Regions from separate parts of the Homo sapiens genome. Here region 2 is linked to region 1. The links are contacts of gene promoters, found by promoter capture Hi-C in blood cells and fetal thymus (Javierre and others, 2016). All regions are on one chromosome and are shown on one strand. The core of a region is centred on a gene start or on the middle of the fragment in contact, and the rest is flanking DNA. Distances in the headings are between cores, read along the strand shown.

Evidence for each region. The method cuts DNA at HindIII sites, captures the fragments that hold promoters and counts their contacts. A CHiCAGO score of 5 or more calls a contact.
Region 2: a fragment that was not itself captured here is called in contact with the fragment with the promoter of PRSS54 in region 1 in 1 of 17 cell types (M1 macrophages); the score reaches 5.2 in M1 macrophages.

Annotation. Positions count from the first base shown.
Region 1 is chr16:58,292,109-58,298,325 of GRCh38, reverse strand. It overlaps PRSS54 (serine protease 54), which reads left to right and starts at 3,301. Exons shown (of 7, transcript NM_001305173.2): 1 at 3,301-3,439; 2 at 4,117-4,341; 3 at 4,504-4,594. The coding sequence starts at 4,510. The HindIII fragment of the contact is 4,073 bases long and covers 3,137-6,217 here.
Region 2 is chr16:58,451,103-58,457,319 of GRCh38, reverse strand. The region is part of intron 2 of LINC02137 (long intergenic non-protein coding RNA 2137); the gene reads right to left. Among named protein-coding and RNA genes, the nearest start is that of LINC02137, 33 kb to the right of the region's middle. The HindIII fragment of the contact is 705 bases long and covers 2,178-2,882 here.

The DNA of each region.
Region 1 (6,217 bases), core at 2,052-4,551:
CAGCACTGTGGGAGCCTGAAGCAGGTGGATCGCTTGAGCTCAAGAGTTCAAGACCAGCCTGGGCAAAACCCTGTCTCTACAAAAAAAAAAAAAAAAAATTATCCAGGAGGATCACTTGAGCCCAGGACGTTGAGGTTGCAGTGAGCCGAGATCGCATCATTGTACTCCATTTTATAAAACTGTTGTGACCAGAGGCTTTCAGGAACCTACTCTTGTTATTTCCCCAAGGAACAAAAGTTCAGTACTCATTAATTCAGTGTTTGTCAGGACTTTATAAAACATAGCTACAGCGAATAATGAGAATCAACCATAGTTCAATTTACCAAGAATAGTTGACAATTCTAAACTTGTGTATCTGGGTGAAAATGGCTTCAAAACACATAAAGCAAAAATTGCTATAACTATAGGGAGAAATGGGCAAATACACTAGTATAATAGGAGGCACCTTTCTGAATGATCGATAGGTCAAGCAGACAAAAAATCAGGAATAATTCAGAAAATTTGAATAGCACAGTCAACAAGTTGGAGGATAATTGACAGATACTGACAGTACATTTTCCTCAAGCAAACATGGTACAGGTACAACAATTCTTATCACATATTAGGCCACAAAGCACGTCTCAGAGATTTTGAAGATTTGTATTACACAGATCACATTCTCCAACCAACTGGGTTAGAAGTCTGTATCAAAAAGGTAAATAAAACTAGTCATATGTTTGGGAAATTTAAGAACACATTTGTAAGTAGCTCAAGAGTCAAACAATAATCACAATGGAAATGTAAAAATAGAACTGAATGATAAGGAAATCACAAGGTATCAAAAGTTAAGAGCTACAGAGAAATGGTACTTAGGGGAAATACAGTGCCTTAAAGACTTATATTAGAAAGGAGGGCTAAAGTTAACACACTAAATGCCAGCTAAAAATTTTAGAAAATAGGCCGGGCATGGTGGCTCCTGCCTATAATCCCAGCACTTTGGGAGGTCGAGGTGGGTGGATCACGAGGTCAAGAGTTCGAAACCAGTCTGATCAACATGGTGAAACCCTGTCTCTACTAAAAATACAAAAATTAGCCAGGAGGCTGAGGCGGGAGAATTGCTTAAATCTGGGAGGTGGAGGTTGCAGTCAGCCGAGATCATGCCACTGCACTCTAGCCTGGGCAACAGAGCGACACTCTGTCTAAAAAAAAAAAAAATTAGGAAAATAACACAAACTCAAAGAAGGTAGAAGAAAACAGACAATAAAAGATAAGGGCAGAAAATAATAAACTAGAAAACTAAGTACAAAGAGAAGTTCAACAAAGAAATTTATACTTTGATATGTGCTGGAGTCACATTGGAGACTTGTGACAAATGATGCTGGCATAACTAAGTATCCACACCATGCACAAAAAATGAATCCATACAGTTGAGGACTTACATGTGAAAAACAAGACTTCAAGGGTTTGAGAAGAAGATAGAGTAGACTAGATCTCTGATGCTGAGCTACGGAAGAATTTCTTAAACAAGACACAAAGAGTCCTAACTGAATAAGATGAATACATGTGAGTTCATGAAAATTAAGACTTCTGGTCTTAAGTGGAGACAGGGTTTCACCGTGTTAGCCAGGATGGTCTCGATCTCCTGACCTCGTGATCCGCCTGTCTCGGCCTCCCAAAGTGCTGGGATTACAGGTGAGAGCCACCGTGCCCGGCTGGATACGGGTATTAAGCAAAGAACAACTGAATGAGAAACACATTCTGGGCCACCACGTTCTCACCTGGAAAGCTCAGGAAATGCCTTTGTCCTGCCAGGGTGACTGGGGATTGTGAGGGAGGAAACATATGGTAATGAAAGCTCTTTGAGGGCCGGGTGCAGTGGCTCATATCTATATAATGGCTAATGCTTTGGGAGGTTTAGGTGGGAGGATCACTTGAGCCCAAGAGTTCGAGACCAGCGTGGGCAACACAGTGAGACCCCATCTCTTCAAAAAAATATAATATGAAAAATTAGCCAGACTTGGTGGCACAGGCCTGTAGTTCCAGCTACTTGGGAGGCTGAGGCTGGAGGATCACTTGAGCCCAGGAGTTCGAGGCTGCAGTGAGCTGTGATTGCACCACTGTACTCTAGCCTGGACAACAGAGCAAGAACTTGTCTCTAAAAACAATAAAAAATAAAAATTTAAAATACAGCTTTTTGATACCTGTGATGTGGAACAAATTAAAGAATCAACTCGCACTTCTCCCACTGCCAAAAATTTTCTGTTCTTGTAGCAGAAGCCAATACCCCCGCCCCCCTGCCCAGGGTTAAAGGTGAGGGAGGGTGGTGAAGCCGGCAGGACATCAGGGGAACCATGGGGGAAGGAGGTAGCGGCTCCCTTTGGACTCAGGCCTCACTTTATTATTATTATTATTATTTTGAGACAGGCTGTCACTCTGTCGCCCAAGCTGTAGTGCAGTGGTGCGATCTCAGCTCACTGCAACCTCCACCTCAGCTTCCCGAGTACCTGGGACTATAGGTGTGTGCCACCACGCCTGGCTAAATTTTTGTATTTTTGGTAAAAGACAGGGTCTCACCATGTTACCCAGTCTGGCCTCAAACTCCTGAGCTCAAGCAATTTGCCTGCCTCGGCTTCGCAAAGTGCTGGGATTATAGGCGTGAGCCACCGTGCCCAGCCAGTTTCCACTTTCTCACCAGCCTTCCTGCCTTCCATCAGCCATTCATCTACCCATCCAGTAAGGATCTTCTGAGCGTCTGCACCAGAGGCCTGTGCGCCCACCCTCCCCCTGTGGCTCCGTGGAATTAACATCTTACCTCAACCTTGTCGACACTTCTCGAGTCCTGGCATTTGGGCTGAAACCAAAGCTGCTCACAGTGGCTGGAGTGGCAGATCCCATCTGGGCCTCTGGTTTGGCAGAGCTGGTCTGGTAGCTTAGATTGGACCCGGAAACTGAGAGGCTAAAGAAAACTGGGCTAAGTCTGAAAGAAACCACCCTGGGAGTGTAAGATGCTGACGGGGACTGGAAATTCCAAACCCACCCCAGTTGTGGGCTTCCTCAGTCCAGTCTGACAAGCATGTGTGGACACAGGGCGGGCGCTGAGTGGGGTAGACAGACCGTGGCCACGACCAGAGAAGACTTTGTAATCCAGCAAAAAGCTTGCCTTCTCAGACTAGGAGAGAGCCTGGCTTCCAGAAGAGCCCTGCCAAGGCTAAGCAACAAGGAGGCCTTTCATCCTAGCTCCTCGTAAGTCCCCATGTCCAGACAGTTGCTTGGTGGTGCCATGGTAACCGTGATGCCACAATGGAACATTCTTCCCAAGGCAGTAGAAGAAATCCTTCTGTTGAACTCTACTGTGTCAGGCCAGCCTGAGTTCATTTCTCCTTGAGCAGGAACAGTTCATGGACGAACTCTGAGGACCATTCTGAGGACAAGAGGCATCCAGTGTCATGAGTGGAACATGGTGACTTAGAACTGTGCACATGGGTTCCTTGGGCTTCTGTGCATTGCTTGACAGCTGTGTGACCTTGGACTGGCTAGTTGATGTCTCTGAGTATCAGTTTCTGAATCTGTAAAATGGCGATAACTCGAGTGTCTACTTCCTACCGCGGTTTTGCAAATGAACTAAGCTAAATGCTGGGGCTGTTCCTATGTAAAGATACAGGCTATTGGCCGGGCACGGTGGCTCACGCTGGTAATCCCAGCACTTTGGGAGACTGAGGCGGGTGGATCACCTGAGGTCAGGAGTTCGAGACCAGCCTGGCCAACGTGACGAAACCCCATCTGTACTAAAAATACAAATATTACAAAATATTACAAAATAATACAAAAATTAGCTGGGCGTGGTGGCGCACATCTGTAGTCCCAGCTACTCAGGAAGCTGAGGCAGGAAAATCGCTTGAACCTGGGAGGCAGAGGTTGCAGTGAGCCAAGCTCGTGCCACTGCACTCCAGCCTGCCAAGGGAGCGAGACTCAGTCTCAAAAAAAATAAAATAAAATAAAAAACAAAAAAACAGGCTGTTAACAGTTAACAGAAGCCCTAGCGTTCTTTTAGCCAGCAGAGTTTAGAAGGGTAAAACCACAGCAGAGGCATTAATCCCAGGGTGGGCTTCCACTAAAACTCTACTTTTCTTTCAGCAGCATTTTATGGCTACAGAGTTAAGGCAAGGGTTGAATTCCACGAGTCAAAAAGCAGCCCTTTTCAGAGACCCAACTCTCTGGGGTGCTCAGGGGCTTGGGCTGGATTGAGAAGAAAACTGACAAGAGTAAGCTGCCCTCTCTTCTCTGGCCATCTCACAAACCACAGTGCGGGCCAACTGGTCCTGCCTCTTTACCACACAGAACCAAGCACTAGGGATAAGACAGGTCAGTGCCCTACATCTTGGAACCTTTGTTAGTAGAAAGAGGGGGAGCCTCTGATGTTTGGGAGGGAACATGTGTGTTTGGGAAGAGGATGGAAAAAAGAGGCATAGAAAACCCTGCATGTGTTTGGGAAGAGGATGGAGTCATTGGGTTTTGTTTCCCCAGCTGCCCATGGTGTCCGCGGCGGGTCTCTCTGGGGATGGCAAGATGCGAGGGGTGCTCCTGGTGCTGCTCGGCCTTCTCTATTCTTCCACCAGTGAGTGTGCTGCTTTCCTCCCTCTGACTTTAGCTGCACACGTGGCACAGAAGGGGATCATCCGGGAAGATGAAGTGGTCCTTAATGTCCAAGGAGGGGCTCAGGGAAGATGACTCACGGCACTTTGCACCGGGCGGCCTGCATTGGTGGCAGGAACCAGGCAAAGAAGTGAATCATGGGACGTGGATGGAGGAAACTAAAGTCAGGGCCAATCCTTAGGGTGGGAGTGTGGTTAGGAAAATAAGGCCCTCTGGGTACAGGGGTGAGCAAGAGGCCTGCCTCTTCACTCCCAGCCCCTGCCCTGTCCTTCCAGGAGAATACTGCTCTTTTGCAAACTACAACCCCCAACTGCAGGGCTGGTCCCGGGAGCAGGGGGCTTCTACTGCTGCAGGTGTCTTGGAGGCAGCCACAGCCTCAGATGGCAGAAGTGGCAGCTGCGGTCCCCTCCTCCCTTGACCTCTAGGCTGCCCAGGACTAAGAATTCCAGCCTACAGAGGGCAGGTGGAGGGGAGACAGCTAGCTAAAGCAGGCTCTGTCCCACCTTGCTGCCGTCCCAGCCCGCCCTGCCCTGCCTCCCTGGGGTTAGAAGGGAGACATGAGAAAGTCCACACACACCCTCACATACACACACGCACACACACACTCTCAAACACACACATGCACACACACTCACACACTTGCACACACATACACGCACACACATAGAGGGGAGTCCTCCAGCTCCCTCAGCCTCCTGCAGCTCTCTGTCTTCTTGCAGCCCCAAAGAGACCAGGGGATACCCAGAAAACACAGAAAGGTCCTCTCCCTCCTTAAAAAGCCACAGCTAAGGGGCCAAGACAAGCATTTCATCTCTGGGTCAGATTTCCTCATTACATCTTGGCTTTCCAAGGGTTTTGTGAGGTCAGATAAACTAGCCAACTAGAGCTTTGAAAAAGCAAAAGTCATCACACACTCCTAAACTCTTGTGGGGTTAGGGAAGGTTGGCAAATGCCTTGCACCGTAGATTGCCAATGTCCCAAAAAGAACTCAGACCAAAGATAAGGATCTTGTCTCTAGTGGTTCTGATGCACTTAGTGACCTTCCAGACATCATCTTGCTAAAATCAGTCTGTCATTGTTCCAGCAAAGTCATCAAGTGTCAATTAATGGAGATGTCTGGTCATATGTGCTCCATCATGGAGAGGTCCTCTGTGCTCCTTTAATGATAATTCTATATGTTACAATCAGTTCTTAGGGTCATGGTTTGGAAACTGTTTTTGGGGCTCATATGCAAGGTTGCCCTCAGGGGGAAGCCCTCCGAGACTTTATGTCCTGGGCAGAATTCGTGACCCCTCCTCTTATACTTTGGGCACACTTCCTGTGTCACATATCCCTCTATATGGCCATCACTCTTCAGCATGTCACTCTGATGGGCTCCTGAAATCCATCCTTGGAATCCCAGGCCCTACCTCAGCACCTGCCAGGGCCAAGTGTGGTTGGATGCATGGCTGAAAAAGGAGTCACCGGTAGGGTGTGGTGGCTCACTCCTGTAATCCCAGCACTTTGGGAGGCCGAGGCAAGCAGATCACTTGAGGTGAGGAGTTCAAGACCAGCCTGGCCAACATGGCAAAACCTCATCTCTGCT
Region 2 (6,217 bases), core at 1,281-3,780, 160 kb before region 1:
GGGAGAACCCGAAGGGGAAAAAGGGGAGGCACGGTTTCCCTTGTGGGCTCCAGGGAGTTTCTAGGACAGGTAGGAATCTGGCCGAAAGCAGACGAAAAGATGAGACTTGCTCTTTGGAGCTGGGCAAAGCCTTCTCTTTCCTTAGGAAAACCCGTATGTCCAGAGAAACATCTCTCCTGAAGAGCTGGAGAGGGGCCCCCTTTTGGCAGGCTCATCCTTCTTGGGTTGTCATTGGCCCAGCCTCATCTTGGGCCTGAGCTAAAGCCACCCACAGAGCTGGGCATGGGCCACTCCCCAGACCTGGGGCAGACTCAGCTCTATGGCTCACCACCCAGGGGCACTCTCCGTTCTCAGGGGCTGCAGCTTCCCCAGTGTCCTGAGCACCATGACAACAGGGTTGGGTTGAATCAGGTTTCAATCAAGTTTCCAAATAACAGAAACTGGGGAGCCAACTTAGAATGCTGGCTTGAGAGTCCCCAGGATCACCCTCAGGCTTCATGATTTGCTAGGACTCACAGAACTCAGAAAAGCCATTGTACTCGTATTTATCACTTATTGTGGTGTAAGGATACAGATCAAAATCAGTAAAAAGAAAAGGTACAAAAACAAAGTCGCGGGGATATCAGGTGCATGCTTACAGGTGTCCCTTCCTAGTGGATTCACCTGGGAACACACTAATTCTTCCAGCAACAATGTATGATGACTTATGCAAGGTGTTACCAACCAGGGAAGCTCACCCAAGCCTTAGCATCCAGGGTTTTTATTGAGGTCAGTCATGTAAGTATGCATCACCCATGTGACCAACCTTAGCCACCAGTCTCCAGGCCCCCAGAGATCAAACGGACACAGTGGTGTCAGACAAATAAAAACAGGCATTCATCACAAGTTACATTGTTAGCATAAACTCTGGTCAAACTGATACAGTGTGCCAGGAGGCCCCAGACGTACAAAAACATTGTTATCAAACAGGATGCTACAAGGGCTGAGGTTATCTCCCAGAAGGAGTCAAGGGCCAGCCCCTTCTTTGGAATGTGCAGGGTTTGAGCAATACCAGCCTGCTGAGCTAACTCTTTACTGTTCAGATGCCAATCATTTATTTTACCTAATACACGCAGAAATCATCTGTTATCACCATGATTTCATAAAAGAAAGATTTAATGCCAAGAAGGTAGTTTGGACATTATGACAGTGTGGGTGGAGGTCTGTGCTCTCCAAGAGAAAACAGTTGGCTTGATGTCGCTGACTATGAAAATGAAGGGACCAGAAGCCACAAGTGTACACCATGAACCCAACATGGGCTTTTTTTCTTGTTTGTCTGCACAGCTTTGTCTCCAGTCAAGGAAGGGATGACCTGAGAGGCTCAGCCTTCCCTCTGCTCCTGTGCTGGTTCTGAGTCAGATGTCCCTACTCTTGGGCAGGACCAGGCCCTGCTGAGGATGGGAGGGCACGGTATGGAACCCTCCTCCCTTAAGCATCTAAGCCTGTTTGTCCTTTCTTTTCTTGGAACTCATTACTATTACAACTTATTCTGGCAAAGAAGGGAGTCTGTTCTTTTTTAGCAAGTGCTGTGGCCTCTGCCCTGCCCCTTGCCCCAGGCTCTGGTCCCTACTAGGCTGACTCTATGACCCTAGGATAGAACAGCTATTCTTTTTTTTTTTTTTTTTTTCTTTTTGAGACAGGGTCTCATTCCATTGCTCAGGCTGGAGTGCAGTGGTGTGATCATAGCTCACGGTAGCCTCAACCACCTAGGCTCAATCGATCTTCCCACCTCAGCCTCTTGAGTTGCTGGGACTACAGGTGCATGTCGCCACACCTGGCTAGTTCTTGTATTTTTTGTGGAGATAGGGTTTCCCCATGTTGCTCAGGCTGGTCTCAAACTCTTGGACTCAAGCAATTCTCGTATCTCAGCCTCCCAAAGTACTGGGATTACAGGCATGAGCCTCTGCGCCTGGCCAGAACAGCTATTCTTCTAAAGTCTCAACTCACCCCGCTTTCCTCACCATATATCCTCCATGCATAGAGCTGAGCATTAAAGACCTGGGCTGCTGGCCTGTGCAGGCTTCATGGCTTGGAGACAGACAGCCCTGGGTTCCACCATCCACTACCTGGGTGACCTGGAGCAAGTAACCTAACCTTGCAGATCTCTTTGTTTCTCAAGTGGGTCTAATGATAAAGCTTTGAGGAATTAGTGAGTGGGTAACAGCCCAGGGCCTGGTGCCGTTTGAATCCATTGATTAGTAGCTGTGAGGACGATGAATCACGTAGTTTCAGGTGCAAAGCGTGGGGGCAAAGAGAATCCTTGTGATGAGTGCAGTAGGTGCTGTGACACATCCAGCTGCCTTGGAACTGGGTGCTGAGAAGTCAGGGGGGTCCTGGGGCTTCAAGACTTCTGGGGAGGGAGCACAACTCATGCACATGACGAGAAGAGAGCTGGTGGGGCTTTGGGGTTGTGAGGACTGAGGGGCTTGTTCACCGTGGGGTCTTTGCATGTGCATTCTCTCTGTCTGGAGACCTCTTCCTTCCATTTTCTACACCTCCCATTTATCTCTGGAGTGTCCATTTAGACCTCAACTAACCCCTTCATTCCCTGACTCGCCTCCTCTGGGCCCCCTTTGAGCCCCCTGCTTTGTTGTAATAATAATCTGCCATTTATTGTGCCAGGGATAATGCAGAGGGCATTACCTACATATGTTATCTCCTTTGACTCACTCAATATTTAGAGAGCTAGCTGTAGCTTTATTTTTCTGATTTTACAGATGAAGAAACAGATACACAGAAGTGAAGCTGGTGGCTCAACAACCCTCCCTCACTCCATACAGTGGTTGTCTGTGTGCAATTTCATCTGTGCCCTGAACGATGAGCTTCCTGAGGGCAAGGAAGCTTGATCACTGTTTAGCCCCAGATACTTAGTAGATGGGAGCCCTCCACCAGTCCTTGCTGAATGAATGAATGAATGAATGAATGAATGAGTAGATGAATGTTTGTAAAGTGGCAATGCAAGCTGGGAATACCATGGACCACGGACAACAAACAAATATTAGTACCTGTGGTGGGCAGAATAACCCCCCCCCCCCCCAAATCCTAATCCCTGGAACCTCTGAATATGTTATGTTACTTGGCAGAGGGAAAGGAAGGTTGCAGATGGAATGAAAGTTGCTAATCAGCTGACTTTAAAATAGGGACATGATCCTGGATTATCTAGGTGGGTCCAAGGTAATCACGGGGGTCATCAAAAGTGGAAGAGGGAGGCAGGAGGGAACCAAAGAAATGGCAGTGTGAGAAGGATGTGGCTTGACAGTGTTGCTGGATTTGAAGATAGAGAAAGGGCCACAAAGCCAAGGAAAGCATGCAGCCTCTAGAAGCTGGAAAAGGGAAGGAAGGGGATTCTCCCTTACAGCTGCCAAAAGAAGGGCAGCCCTGCCGACATCTTGATTTCAGCCCAGAGAGACCCATTTCAGACTGAGGACCTCCAGAACTGTAAGCAAATATATTTGTGTTGTTTTAAGCCACAAATGTGATTTTTTTTTTTTTTTTGATGGAGTTTTGCTCCGTTGCCCAGGCTGGAGTGCAATGGGGCAATCTTGGCTCACTGCAACCTCCGCCTCCTGGGATCAAGCGATTCTCCTGCCTCAGCCTCCCAAGTGGCTGGGATTGCAGGCATGCACCACCATGCCCTGCTAATTTTTTTTGTATTTAGTAGAGACGGGGTTTCACCATGTTAGTCAGGCTGGTCTTGAACTCCTGACCTCAGGTGATCCACCCGCCTCTGCCTCCCAATGTGCTGGGACTACAGGCATGAGCCACCACACCCGGCCCACAAATGTGATTTTTGACAGCTTCCACAAAAAAGTGAATATAATGCCCTATCCCTGATGTCAAGAATCACATCTGACCCTTAGTGGTCACTTATCATATGATGGTTGAATTGCACTGGAGTATTGCTATAAGCACCCACTTACTATCAGGAAAGATGCATAACAAAAAAGTGCTTTTAAAAAATTTATATTTTGGGGTCTAACTGGGAGGTCTCAATGTGGGTCAGAATTTGATTCTGAGACAGAACCATTGGCTCAGCAGGTTGGGCTGGATGGATCACAGAGAGTGACACCAGGGGCCTTCTAGGGAAGGGAGTCACAGGCTAATGAGTGAGTAGTGATGCTGGACAGGTAGATGTCAGCATCCTGGGACCACCTATGGCCTCAGGCCTGGGGTCCCTGCATAATCATTAGGGCTACCATGCATTGAGTCTAGACCCTCTGCCAGACAGGATCCTAAGCCCCCCACAACATCAGCCCAACAGCCCATTATGTAGGCAACACGATGTTGCCTGCCTGCCAGAGGAAAGAACAGCCAGCCCTCGTGTACTCCTCCACCATGCCAGACACTGTTCCAAGAGTGGCACATCCTTAACCCATTGAGTCCTCATAACAGCCCCATGTGATGGCTCCCATCATTGTCCCCAGTTTACAGATTAGGAAACTGAGGCCTAGAAAGGAAGTCACTTGCCCACTCGCATAGCCAGTAATTGGGTCTGAACAAAGGCACTGTGGGCCCAGGGTCTCTGTTCTTTTTCTTTTTTTGAGACAGAGTCTCCTACTGTCACCCATGCTGGAGTGCAGTGGTGCAATCATGGTTCATTGCAGCCTCAACCTCCTGGGCTCAAGCCATCCTCCCACCTCAGCCTCCAAGAGTACTGAGATTATAGGCCTGAGCCACCACGCTCAGCTGTGAGTCTCTTAACTACTATGCTTTACTGCCTCTCTAGATGGAATAATAATTATATCATAATTATATATCTGTTAATGTAATAGTATAATAGTACAAACATTTAATAATTATATACCAAAATATGCCATTTTAGCACATTGGTTATTTTGAACTGAAGTCAACTGAAAAGAAGCAGATACAAGAAAAACTCTCTGGCCTCCCGCTATTTGCCTAAAAGCAGGATATAAATTTGTAAAAGTAGCTCTTCTTCACTCTCTGCCAGGAAGAACAGAAGTTAATCAACATAGACAACTTTGGACCTTTAGCCCAGAGAGGGCACCAGAGGAATCTACAAAACAAACCTGACTCACCCACCCTATCTTCCCTTAGCTTCTCCATATATTTACCCTCCCACAGCTTGCCTCCCTAGAAGCTCTAAATCCTTTCACTTTGTCTTGTCACTTCTCTAATAATTTATTGTTCTTTTGTCAAGATGCTGTATAAGCCCAAGTTCTAGCCACTCCCTTGAGTTACTCATCCCTGAGTATTTCCATGTGTATGCATGATGCACATATTGATAAACTTCTGCTTGTTTTTTTTCTTGTTAATCTGTCTTTTGTCAGCCTGGTTTACAGGACCCCAGCCAGAAAATCTAGGAGGATGGAAGGAAAAGGAATCTTTTCTTCCTCCCCTACAATACCATCTCCCATTTGGATCAGGCCTTTCTGTTTATGACACATTCTCCTGTTTTCTCTTGTCATCCTCACAGTGGCTGGTTATGATGATGAGTGCCCTTGGCTCACATTTTGGGAAACAGAGCCCAGAGAGGGAGACACCCACCCATCCACCATCCAAGATGAGGGTGGGATTCCTTCTGGGGTCTCCTGCCTCCAAGTCCAGAGTCGCCCACTCCCACCGGCTGCCCCCGTCTTGTCCTGGTGCATTATTTATGGGCCATTACCCACCTCCTGCAGGCATCCAGATGCTGCCTGCCAGAGCTGTGACCTCAGTGTCCCCTGGAGAAGATCAATGGTGCCCCCCCCCCAACCCCCTGCCAGCCCCACTCTCTGCTCTCCTCTCCAGCTGCTCCCTCTTTGGGTCTCTGCAGGCTCCTGGTGTGTGGCACAGCCTGTCCCGTCCCACCCACCAGAACCACCTTGTGAGCACAGATTCCTCTTTGCCAAGCCAGCTGACATATTCAGCAGGCTCCTGACTTGCTGAGCAAAGCAAGGGTAGTGGTGAATTCCAAGCTTTCCATGCCCTCACCCTGACATGTGCAGGGGTGGCATAGAGGGTGTGGATGGTGTGTGTGCATGTGCGTGTATGTGTGTCTTGAGAGGAGGGTGTGTGTGTGTTGTATGTGGGAGGGGTTGTTTAAGCACTCATGGTTGAACCCATTTGCATTGCCTCTTCTGGGTCTCATAACTGAAAGTGTAACCAGCAAGGGTCATTTTCTTCTTCCCTGTCACCCAGGGGGGTGGGAAGAGGTGCTTAGATCTAGAGTTAAGGT